Regions from separate parts of the Homo sapiens genome. Here regions 2 and 3 are each linked to region 1. The links are contacts of gene promoters, found by promoter capture Hi-C in blood cells and fetal thymus (Javierre and others, 2016). All regions are on one chromosome and are shown on one strand. Each heading gives the region's core, a stretch centred on a gene start or on the middle of the fragment in contact. The rest is flanking DNA. Distances are from core to core; before and after follow the strand shown.

Region 1 (3,551 bases), core at 558-3,057:
TCCTTTTGTTACTTTTAATTAAAAAATTGAGACTTTATTTGCTTTGGATATGAGGCCTAGGCTTTATAATGTCGCCTTTAATGGAAACAACAAATACAGTAACTTCATTTAAAAGTAAACAATAGTGACAAATTCACCCTGTAAATCAAATTGCTGGTATTTATAAACACAGGTGGCAAGTTACTAGGTACGAAGGGTTCGTGGTCCAGGGGAAAATATGCCAGCAGAGTGCAGAGACAATGTCTAGGTACCGGCCCTAATTTAATATTTGGTGTATGTAAAGATCTTCGTGAGTGCTGGGCTGGCAACAGCAGGGGTTTGATGGGATGAAAAAGTAAGGTTAGCTGGATTTCAGGTTCAGGAAGAAACCAGGATGAGGACATTAGAAGATGAACTCAGCAAGTATGTAGGAATAGGCATAGGAGATGAACTCAGCAAGAATGAAGGGATATCCGAATCTTGGGAAAGGGTGGGAAAATAACCTAGAGAACTATGGATTGAAGGAAATTGAAGAGGAAAAATAGCAAGGACTTAGGCCCAGGACGGCTTTGAATGCGGCTCAGCACAAATTCGTAAACTTCTTAAAACATGATGAGATTTTTTAAAAGTTTCATCAGCTACCATTAGCGTTAGAATATTTTATATGTGGTCCAAGACAATTTTTCTCCTTCCAATGTAGCCCAGGGAAGCCAAAAGATTGGACACCCTTGGCTTAGATGGTGGAGTCAAGGGAACTAAAGATATGACCCCAGTGTGCCAATGCCAAAGGTGAGAAGAGAAAGCAAAGAAAGCAGGCCTTTAAAGAGGTAGAGGAATCCTCAAAGGTGGAAAGAAACAGGGATAGGATGCTGCCCAAGAGGCAGGGACAAAGAATCGGAGCCAAAGACTGCGGTAAAAATGTGGGAAGGTGATGTCCACGATGTTCGAACGAGTCCGTGGCCGAAGGAAGTAAGAGTCTGGGTTTCTGGAGGTTTTCATACAGAGAACTGGGATTTAGATTTCGGGCTGGAAAAATATATTTTGGACTCTCAGGGGCTTTCAGGGTAAGAGTTCGGTAGAGTTCAGTCAGCTTGGCGGAGACAGGTAGTCAGTTAATGTTGGAAGGAAAATTCGGACAGCTGGGAATTAATTTCAACGGGTTTAGGGTGATTTCGGCAAGGGCTGGCGGGGCTAGGGTCGAGTGTGAATTTCGTCTTGGGTGGTCCACGCGTCTGGTTTGGGCAGGAATTTCTGTGGGCAGCGAGGCGTATTCAGGCAGCGTTGCGGGTGAATCTGCGTGGGATGAGGGTGGATTTCCTTCAGGACTGCGGTGCATTTCAGGCCGGGGTGGAGGTGCCTCACAGCCGCGGCGCAGGGAATTCCCTCTAGGATGGGGGAGCGGGTCGGGCGGCGCCGGCCAGGGAGGGGAAGTCCAACGGGGGTTCGGAGAGGCTCGGGGGACTCGGACGGAGAGAAGCCGGGTCGCGGCTGCGGAGGCTCGGCCGGCCAAGGGATTTCCGCGACGTTCAGCGCTGCGAGCTGCGCGGCGCTGCGGCCCCTCCCGTCCCGGGGGAACCTGTTGCCGGCGAAACAGGCGGGCGGTGGCGACGATGGAGAAGCCTTCCTCGCCTCTGCCTGGCTGCACGGCAGCCCTTTCACCTTAGGCACGCTCCGCGGCGCGGCCCCTCCCTCCGCTCCTTCGTTTAAAACAAACAGAATACGCCGCCGCCAACCCTAGCCTGCCAACGGCGAGCACGGTCGCCTCCCGTGCCGCTTCCGGGAGCCGAGGCGCGGCCCCGCCGCCCGGGGAGGAGGAGGCGGAGGGGGAGGAGGCCAACATGGCGGCGCGCAGGGCTGGGCCGGGCCGCAGCCGCGCCTGAGCGCCTCACCGCACTAGCTCGGCTCGCAGGACCCAAGCCCGCACCCAGCCTGGCCCGGCTGCTGCGGAGCACCCGGGGCAGGAACGCAGGGGCCAACCTGGGCGCGGAGGCGGCGCGGAGGGTGCGCCGCGCGGCCCGCCAGGCCCGGGACCCGTAGCTTCGCCGTGCGCTGGCCGGGGCGGCCAGGAGGCCCAAGCCATGGAATCGGAGGAGGAGCAGCACATGACCACGCTGCTGTGCATGGGCTTCTCAGACCCCGCCACCATCCGCAAGGCCCTGCGCCTGGCCAAGAACGACATTAACGAGGCCGTGGCACTGCTCACCAACGAGCGGCCGGGCCTCGACTACGGCGGCTACGAGCCCATGGACAGCGGCGGTGGCCCCAGCCCCGGGCCCGGCGGGGGCCCGCGGGGCGACGGCGGAGGTGACGGCGGCGGCGGCGGCCCCTCCCGCGGCGGGAGCACCGGAGGCGGGGGCGGCTTCGACCCCCCGCCCGCCTACCACGAGGTGGTGGACGCGGAGGTGAGGAGGGGCAACCCCAGACCTCTGTGGGAAGCCACTGGGCTGGAGTTCCTGGGAGGGGACACACCCCGCTGGGCTTGGTGTGGGGAGAGAGGGCATTCGACTGGGGCTTTAGTGGGGGCGGGGCGGAGAGAGAGAGAGAAGCCCCAGGCTCCAGTTGGGAACCGAAGTCACTTGATTGGGGGTAAGTGGGGAGAGGGACCCATAGGAGAGGCGTGTGAAAGGGAATTAGGGATGCGCAGCGGAGCTGTGGGTTGGGGTGAGGAGGGGTCCCTTAGGCTTCCGGCTATGCACGCCGACGATGGGGAGGAGGCTCCAGGGCTATCATCCGAGATGGGAGGACAGACACTTGAGCATATAGTGGGAAGGATGCGTGCAGTAGGGGGTCGGAAATGGGGTACTAGTGCACTAGGCTAGGTCGGAGATTTTGTGGCACGAGGTTTCAGTGAAGGATTGGCGGAGGCACCAGGCTCAGAGTCAGAAAAAGCGGTGTGGGCCGGCCAGAGTAGTGGTCTTTGACAGGATCACAGGAAAACTGTTGGGGTTAGGAGTGAGGTTGGGGTTTTAGCCAAGGGTCGGAAAGGGGGGGCATTGAGTAGGATTTAAAATGAAGAGGGAAGGGGCCGCGGCCAGGAATGAGGACTTGAATAAAATCAGGTATGAGAGCAGTGGGGATTGCACTGAGAGGGCAGAGGTGGGAGGCCTGGGCAGGGGTGGGAGCTGAGGAGGGTCTAGGCAGGGATGGGGACTGGAATTGGAAGATAGAGCTGGCACCAGGTCTGGGTAAAGAGGGAGTACTGGTCATCGATAAGGTCAGAAATGAGAGAAAATTAGACCGGGGAAAGAGATGGTAGTCATACTGAGGGTGCTATGCAGAGGGGCGCGGAACAGGGTGGGAGCGCAGTGGGGGTGGAGGAGGAGTCTTGAGGCTAATGGCTTTGATCAGAGACCTCAAGTCTAGGTGGAGAAGACTATGCCTGTTTAGTTTGGGGTGTGAGCAAGGAACGTGGGGGAAGAAAACGGACTCTTCTATAATAAAGAAAAAAGATCGACCAGAAGCAGCAGTGCTTTTGAATAATTACTTTGCAGAAACATAGTAGCTCATGGCAGGAATTTTGGTCAGATTCGTTGGGTAGTTCATTTCAGGGGCCAGTAGAGCAGCTTGGCCTG
Region 2 (3,551 bases), core at 435-2,934, 1.2 Mb before region 1:
TTGACAAAGGTTTCCATATCTATTATTTCATACAATTCTCACAACACTACAGAGTGTGCTAGGCTATGATTATTATCCCCATTTTTCAGATGAGGACTCTGAGGATCAGAGAGGCTAAGTGAATCACCTGAGGAAGAGCCAGTCTTTGAAATTGAGGGGTGAGTAGATTAACTACAGGTCTACACCAGACAGTTACACTGTCAGTGTTCTTTATTTCTTACAAAGCCTTTTTTCCTTCTAAGGTCTAGGTTAAGACCTCCAGTGACTCTGCAAAGTAGACCAAGCGTGTATGGCTATCCCCATTTAACAGTTGAATAAGTAGAGCTTTGGAGATATGAATGATGTATCTCAGTTCACAGAGCCAAAAAGTTGTCCTCTTTCCATAACTCCAGAGCATTTTCTACAATCATCCTCAGTTTGAATATCTGGTCTTGTGGTGGGTAGGGCAGATAGGTCATCCCTGTATAAGTCATGTGTCCCAGGGGCAGAGAGAGGCCAAGTGACTTGGTTGAGATGACTGTGCTGACAGCAAAAATAAGAATCTGGGTTTCCTGACTCCCTGTCTGTTGCTCCTCTTTTCTCTTCCAACTTCCACAGCCATAGGTGATATTGGCCTGTGTTACCTCTCATCATATAATCCAAAAGGGAATCATATTTTATTTCTTTCTTTCTGTTTTCTTTTTCTTTTTCTTTTTGAGATGGAGCCTTGCTCTGTTACCCAGGCAGGAGTGCAGTGGCACGATCTCGGCTCACTGCAACCTCTGCTTCCTGAGTTCAAGCCATTCTCCTGCCTCCCGAGTAGCTGGGATTACAGGCACCCACCACCACACCCAACTAATTTTTGTATTTTTAGTAGAGACAGGGTTTTACCATGTTGACCAGGCTGGTCTCAAACTCCCGACCTTGTGATCTGCCTGCCTCGGCCTCCCAGAGTGCTGGGATTACAGGTGTGAGCCACCACACCCAACCACTTTCTTTCATCTCTCTTGGAAATACACCCATCTTATCCATGGTTATGCCCTATTTCCTGGAACATTGTCTGGCTCAATACATATTAGTTGGATGAATGAATGCATCTCTGAATTCCAACCAAATACTTATTGATTGTTAGTCACCTGGCAGGCCTTGGGAGAGGGTGACAGGGGCAAGCTCAGCCATAACAAAAATTTACCTTTAAGTCCCACTGTCCCCACTGGTCTTTGGCCTCATGGGCTTCCTGTGGCATCCTAGGCATGGTTCAGACCTAAGCCACTCTGGCAGCCCCATCTCCAGCCCTGGTGGAGCTTAGAGTAAGCACTGCTCTCCATGTAGCCTAGAGATATATTCATCCACTCTATTTATTCATGTATTTATTCATTCCACTAATTCATTCACTCATGCAATAAACAGCCCTAGTACTGGACCATGGGGATAATGAGACAGAGAGAGTTCCTGCCTGTGAGTTCCCCATAGCTTAGGGTCACAAGTATAAGCAGATATGAAAACAGTTCGATAAATGGCCACTACAGGAGTAAGCACAGGGTGCCATGGGGGTAGGGAGCAGGGGTGCCTAATCCAATCTGGGAGACAAGGAATATTTCATACCCACCTACAGCTGCCATTTATTCACAGCTTTCTATGTGCCAAGTACTCTGCCAAGCCCTTTACATTCATTTCTCCAATTTACTCCTAATAACAACCCTATGAAGAAGGTGCTTGCTATCCTGTCCATTTTACAGATGGGCAAACTGAGACTCAGAAATGGGCAGTGACTTTCCCAAGGTCTTAGAACTTGTATGGGCTAGTGTTGAGATTTAACTCTAATGTCAGGGCTCCTAGCAACTGTTCTGTATGCCCCCTGTGCAGACCACCTCCTATGCTAGTGAGGTTCCATTTCAGTTGCATCTTGAAGGGTAAGTATGAGTCTGCTGGGCAAATTGGCTGCCGTCAGCATGATGGTGGGAGGAATTGTAGAGTGTGACGATATGGTTTGGAGGTTGCAAAAAGGCATCTTAGACAAAAGGAGACAACATGGGCAAAGAAACGGGTTGAAAACAGCATTGTGTCTAGGGCAAACAAATGGAAGATGATTTCTTCTCACCCATCTTAGTAGAGAAATTCTACAGGGGATCTGTAACCCTGACGATCCGTTGCAATCAGAACCTTTGGGTGACTGTTGAGTCTTTAGACATCATACAGGAAAATCTTGGTGGAAAGAAAAATTATAGCTGGCCCTTGTGGATTTTGTAGTTTTGGGCCAGGAAGACTAAAAACAATCTCAATTCTGGTCTCAGGAAGAGGAGTGAGAGTATGGGTCTGCCCAGTGGCTGAGTGGGTAGGTGAACTGGCTGGGTTAGCTGCTGCTGTTGGGGAGGGGGAGTTTCTATTTCTTTCTCTCCCCTTCAGATCTTTCTCCTTGCTTTTCACATACCCATCTTTCTCCTTGCTTTCCACATATACTGACTGAACATTACCTGTGTGTCTAGTTTGGCGCTGTGGTAGATACATGGATAAAGTAGGTCTGACCCCTGCTCTCAAAGTATCTACAGTCTAGGAGGGAAAATGGAATATTTTGATAGATATGCTCATTGATATGCTAATATTGACAGATATGTTAATATCTATGGATATGTTCCATTTCCCCTCCTAGACTGTAGATAATCATCAGAGGGTTGCATCATTTACAAAGTGCATTTAGTTGGATATACATATTTAGGAACCCATGTGTGGCCAGGTGTGGGAAAGCAGAGATAAATGTTGCAGAATCCCTGTTTCCGAGAAGCCGAATTATAGGAGAGGAACTCCTGAAGCAGAGTGTTATGGGGGAAGCATGTGAAAGGCACCGAGGAGCACTGAGGAAGGAGGGGAGGAGTTAGGGAAGCCACAGACATGTTTCATCCTTAAAGCCAGGCCTTTATCCTGCCAGAGACAATCCCATTCATGTTTCATTTTGATGGTCTTTGAAGAAATAAAATTTGGATTGATTATTTCAGAATCCTTCATGACTGTGAAATCCATATGATGAGCTCCATTTTTCCATTGAAGGAACAGAGGCCCAGAGCAGTGAAGTGACTCACTCAAGGTCAAACAGCTGGCACATGGCCAAGCTGGGCTAACCAGGTCTTTTGACTCATGTTCTTTCTGAGACGGCCCACTGCCTCTACAAGGGAGAGAGTGACAAGTGCCTTGTGCCCATGCACCATCTACTTTTAGCTCTTTCCTTGGACCAAGGCCCAGAAAGTGCCCCGTTGTGTCACATCTGTTCAAGCCTGTGGGTGATCTGTGGGCTCTGGCTTAATCCGGTAGAAGGATTTAGTAACATAGGTTGCCTGGCCTCTCAGTGGGAGAGCTGGTTAATCTCCCACAATCCTTGTTGTTCCAGCTCCTTCCCTTAGTTACGCTGATTGGACTGAGGCTTGGAGCCCCATTTTGGGGTCTTTGAAAAGTGAATGGCAGCAGTCACTCTGAAGGTTTCCCTGAAGATGCATTGAGATTCAGGGCTTAAATGGGGCACAGGGTAAAGCTGCCTTGTCCCAGGCAGTGAGGCATACAAAAGTGGGTGGGGTTCTCTG
Region 3 (3,551 bases), core at 337-2,836, 1.2 Mb before region 1:
AGATTGTCCAGATCCCAAGGCCTCTGGGCTCAGGGTTGGGCTTTAATCTGAACTTTGATCAGTGAGGAAGCTGACATAGCCCCAGGTTTATCCTGGATTATATAGTATAGAGCCATGGTTCTCAGCGTGGCCTGAGGACCCTGGAGGAACCTGAGGTACTTTTAGAGGTTCATGAGATCAGAACTATTTTTATAATGCTACTAAGATGTAATTTTCCCTTTTCATTGGTTGATGTTTAAACTGATGGTGTAAAAGCAACAGTGGTAAACAGCTGGTGCTTTAGTTTGGATCAAGGTAGTGGTAGCAAACTGCAGTAGTTATCATTGTATTATTCACCACCACATGTGCACGGTAGGAAGAAAAAAGTCAGTTTCACTTAATGTCCTTGACGAAGCAATAAAAATGATCAAATTTATTAAACTTCAGCCTTCGAGTGTCTGGCCTGTCTTTTTAATGATTGGTGTGATGAGATAAGAGTATGGGTAAAGCTTTTCTGTTGCCTACAAAAGCACAGTGGTGGTCTCAAGGAAAAGCACCAGAGTGAGTGAGTGAGTTGGGAGCTGAAGTAGCCATTTTCTCCATGGAAAACCATTTTCCTGGAAAGAACGATTGACAGACACACTGCAGTTATTCAGCCATGGGTAGTTGGCAGACACACACCCACACACACACCTACACACACCCACAGACACACGCACACACATCCACCCACACATATATATATTTAAATGATGAAGTCAGAGCTGTTACTTCAAGGAAAACAAATGACAGTATGTACGGCCAATTATAAAATTTGAGAGTTCAAATGAAAAACTGGGATTTTGGAAAACTTGTATCCTTCACTGTGAGCTGGTTTCAGATTCCACATGGCAGTGACCCTTTAAAAATCCACCACTTGTCAAGTTTTGGTGTACTATCAAAGAGGAATGTCCACAGTTATCTGAATAGATTATTAAAATACTTCTCCCTTATTCAACTTCATGATGTGTGAGGCCAGGTTTCTTCATATCCTTTAATCAAATAACACATGACAATAGGCTGAATGCAAAATATATGTGAATCTGCTTTGTATGTTAATAAGTCAGACATTAAAGATGTTGCAAACCTGAAACAATGGCATTCTTCTTACTAATTTTGCTATGGATTTTTTTTCATTAAAATTTATTATTTAGATTAACATGTAACAGATTTATTACTGTTATTTTAAGGGAATCGATAAATGTTTTTAAAAGTTCTCTAATTTCTGACTTGATAAATATTACTAGACATGACCCACATAAACAAAACCTCTTTAGAATCCTGTCATTTTTAAGAGTGTAAAGGAGGCTCAGTTCAAATCTTGGTTCTGCCATTTACCAACTGTGCTATCCTGGGCAAGTTACTTAACTGCTCTGTGCCTCAATTCCTTTATCAATCAAATAGAGATAATTTTAACCTATCTCATATAGATAAGTTGTAATAATTAAGCTTAACATATATAAAGTGCTTAGAACAGCTCCTGGTATATAACAAGTGTTATATAAAGATTCTAATGATAATAGTTACTATAACACAGCATTGTAGTGCTGTGTTATAATAGCTATTGGTTATGGTCTGTGTTCCAGTCTGTTTTCCCCACCTGAGGCCTTGGGGCAGGCTGTGTGGCTCCCCCAAGATCAGGGTCTGCTGTCTCTGATTGATCTCTGAGTCCTAGCACAAAGCTTGGCACCCATTAGGTAGTCATAAAGTTTGGTGAGGAAATGAATGAGTAGTTGGGGGAAGGCAGGACAAATTCCAGACATTCCTGATAGGCAACGAAGTTCCCCTATGAAGAGGCTAAAATCCTAAGTGGTAAGAGTGAGACTGTAAGTGGAGGTGGAGGCACAAACGGGAACTGGATTGAGGTGGGAGCAGGTAGAGTGAGAGTCTCAAACATGTGCAGTAACTGACGGAATAGCCCCTTATGACATACAGTCTGATGCCTGGTGGGGAGGTGTGCCAGGCTGAATGAAGACACCAGGTGAGACCGGCCCCACCTGCTGATGGGGCTGGGTAACACAGCCTGCTTTATTCCACCTGGATGGCCTCCGAACCTTCAAGACACCTTGGTTAATAACGGGAATCTCTGCATCTGCCGCCGCACTGCATGGGGCTGGGGAGATCAGAGAGAAAAGAGTTAGGCTGAAGCACTAAATACTAGTCTCTCATAATTTCCGGATCTACATTTTACATGACTTGGCGTGTTTGACCATGTTGTAATTGTAAATGGTTACCTCAGTTATTTTTGGACATCCAGGAAGAAAGGGGAAAAATGTAGCTCAGTACCTACCCTGCGTCAAGCACTTGATTAATGCTTTCACATGTAAACCTCAAGACCACCTCATGAGGAAAGTGCCCTTATACCCATATTGGATATGAAGAAACTGAAGCTCAGGGGATGTAAGTAATGTCTCTGTGGTCACACTGCTAATTGGTGGTCTAGCTGGGATTGGAACCCAAGTCTGTGTGAATACCATGTCCCTACCCTTTAAAAAAGCAAATTTTATTTTATTTTCTATTACACAAGTAAGGCATATTATCTAAAATTGAGAAAATACTGATAAGTAAAAAAATAAAAATTATCCATAAATTCTGCCATTCAGATATAAGAGCTACAATCACATTGGTATGTCTTTCCAGACTTTTTTTCCGCATGTATATATTTGTAACCAGCTTTTCTGCTTAACGATATATCATAAATGTCTTTCTGCATCTATAAACGTATTTCTGTATCATTTAAAAAGACTGCATAGTATTTCATTTTATGAATGAACTGTTTATTTAACTGATCTTCCGTTGCTAAATATTTAGGTTATATCTAGCTTTTTACTAATATTAAAAATGCTGCAGTAAGCATCCTTGTAGTTTAATCTGTGTGTGTATTTTTACTTCCTTGGGATAAATTCCTAGAAGTGAGATTGATGATTAAAAGCGCATTTTGGTTTCAAAGACATATACTATATTGCCAACTTGCCCCACCCCCGCAGGAAACTTATAAATATTTATTTCCCACTACAAGTGTGTGAATATTCCTGTTTCCCTGCACCTTCAACAAAAAGTGGGTATAAAAAGATGTTTGCTTGTTGGATAGACAAACAAAATATTGGTTTTAGTAAGTCCATATTCTTTCAATCTCACTTTCTTGCCTCTTGATCCAGTTTGAGTAATGCTCTGTATTAGGATATGAAAAGTCTTAATATGTTGGTTACCCAAGGTAACCAGGTAACCACTCCTGCCTGAGCCGAGTTGGGTAGAAGTGGTCAGGGAGCCAGGTGGGAGGGAAGGTATGAGTCTGAGTTTGGTGAGGCAGTAGGACAGGTTGGATGGAGAGGGGCTGGGTGCTGGTAATTGTGCTCACGCACTGGTTAGAGAGTGGTCCAACTACACAGGACTCACCTGCCAAAGTGCGCTTGCTCCCTGGGGATTCTGTTGGGCAGTCCAGACAGAGAGCTGGTGCTAAGAAATCCACCAGGGCTAGCAAGGTCAATCACGGGAAAGAGGTGTACTGGCATCCCAGCAGGAGGCAGACAGTA

What was found. The method cuts DNA at HindIII sites, captures the fragments that hold promoters and counts their contacts. A CHiCAGO score of 5 or more calls a contact.
Region 2: a fragment that was not itself captured here is called in contact with the fragment with the promoter of USP24 in region 1 in 4 of 17 cell types (total B cells, naive B cells, M0 macrophages and 1 more); the score reaches 13.9 in total B cells.
Region 3: a contact is called between a fragment that was not itself captured here and the fragment with the promoter of USP24 in region 1, in 1 of 17 cell types (total B cells). The highest score is 7.7, in total B cells.

What each region holds. Positions count from the first base shown.
Region 1 is chr1:55,213,620-55,217,170 of GRCh38, reverse strand. It overlaps USP24 (ubiquitin specific peptidase 24), which reads left to right and starts at 1,807. Exons shown (of 68, transcript NM_015306.3): 1 at 1,807-2,381. The coding sequence starts at 2,058. LOC100507634 (a long non-coding RNA gene) reads right to left here and starts at 1,763. Exons shown (of 1, transcript NR_038320.1): 1 at 1-1,763. RefSeq lists silencers at 1,630-2,139, 2,210-2,399 and an enhancer at 2,860-2,919. The HindIII fragment of the contact is 9,819 bases long and covers 1-3,551 here.
Region 2 is chr1:56,424,961-56,428,511 of GRCh38, reverse strand. All of the region lies in intron 1 of LOC124904185 (a long non-coding RNA gene), which reads left to right. Among named protein-coding and RNA genes, the nearest start is that of LINC01767, 12 kb to the right of the region's middle. The HindIII fragment of the contact is 4,004 bases long and covers 1-3,551 here.
Region 3 is chr1:56,407,727-56,411,277 of GRCh38, reverse strand. It overlaps LOC124904185 (a long non-coding RNA gene), which reads left to right. Exons shown (of 2, transcript XR_007066106.1): 2 at 1-1,111. Among named protein-coding and RNA genes, the nearest start is that of LINC01767, 5.5 kb to the left of the region's middle. The HindIII fragment of the contact is 233 bases long and covers 1,470-1,702 here.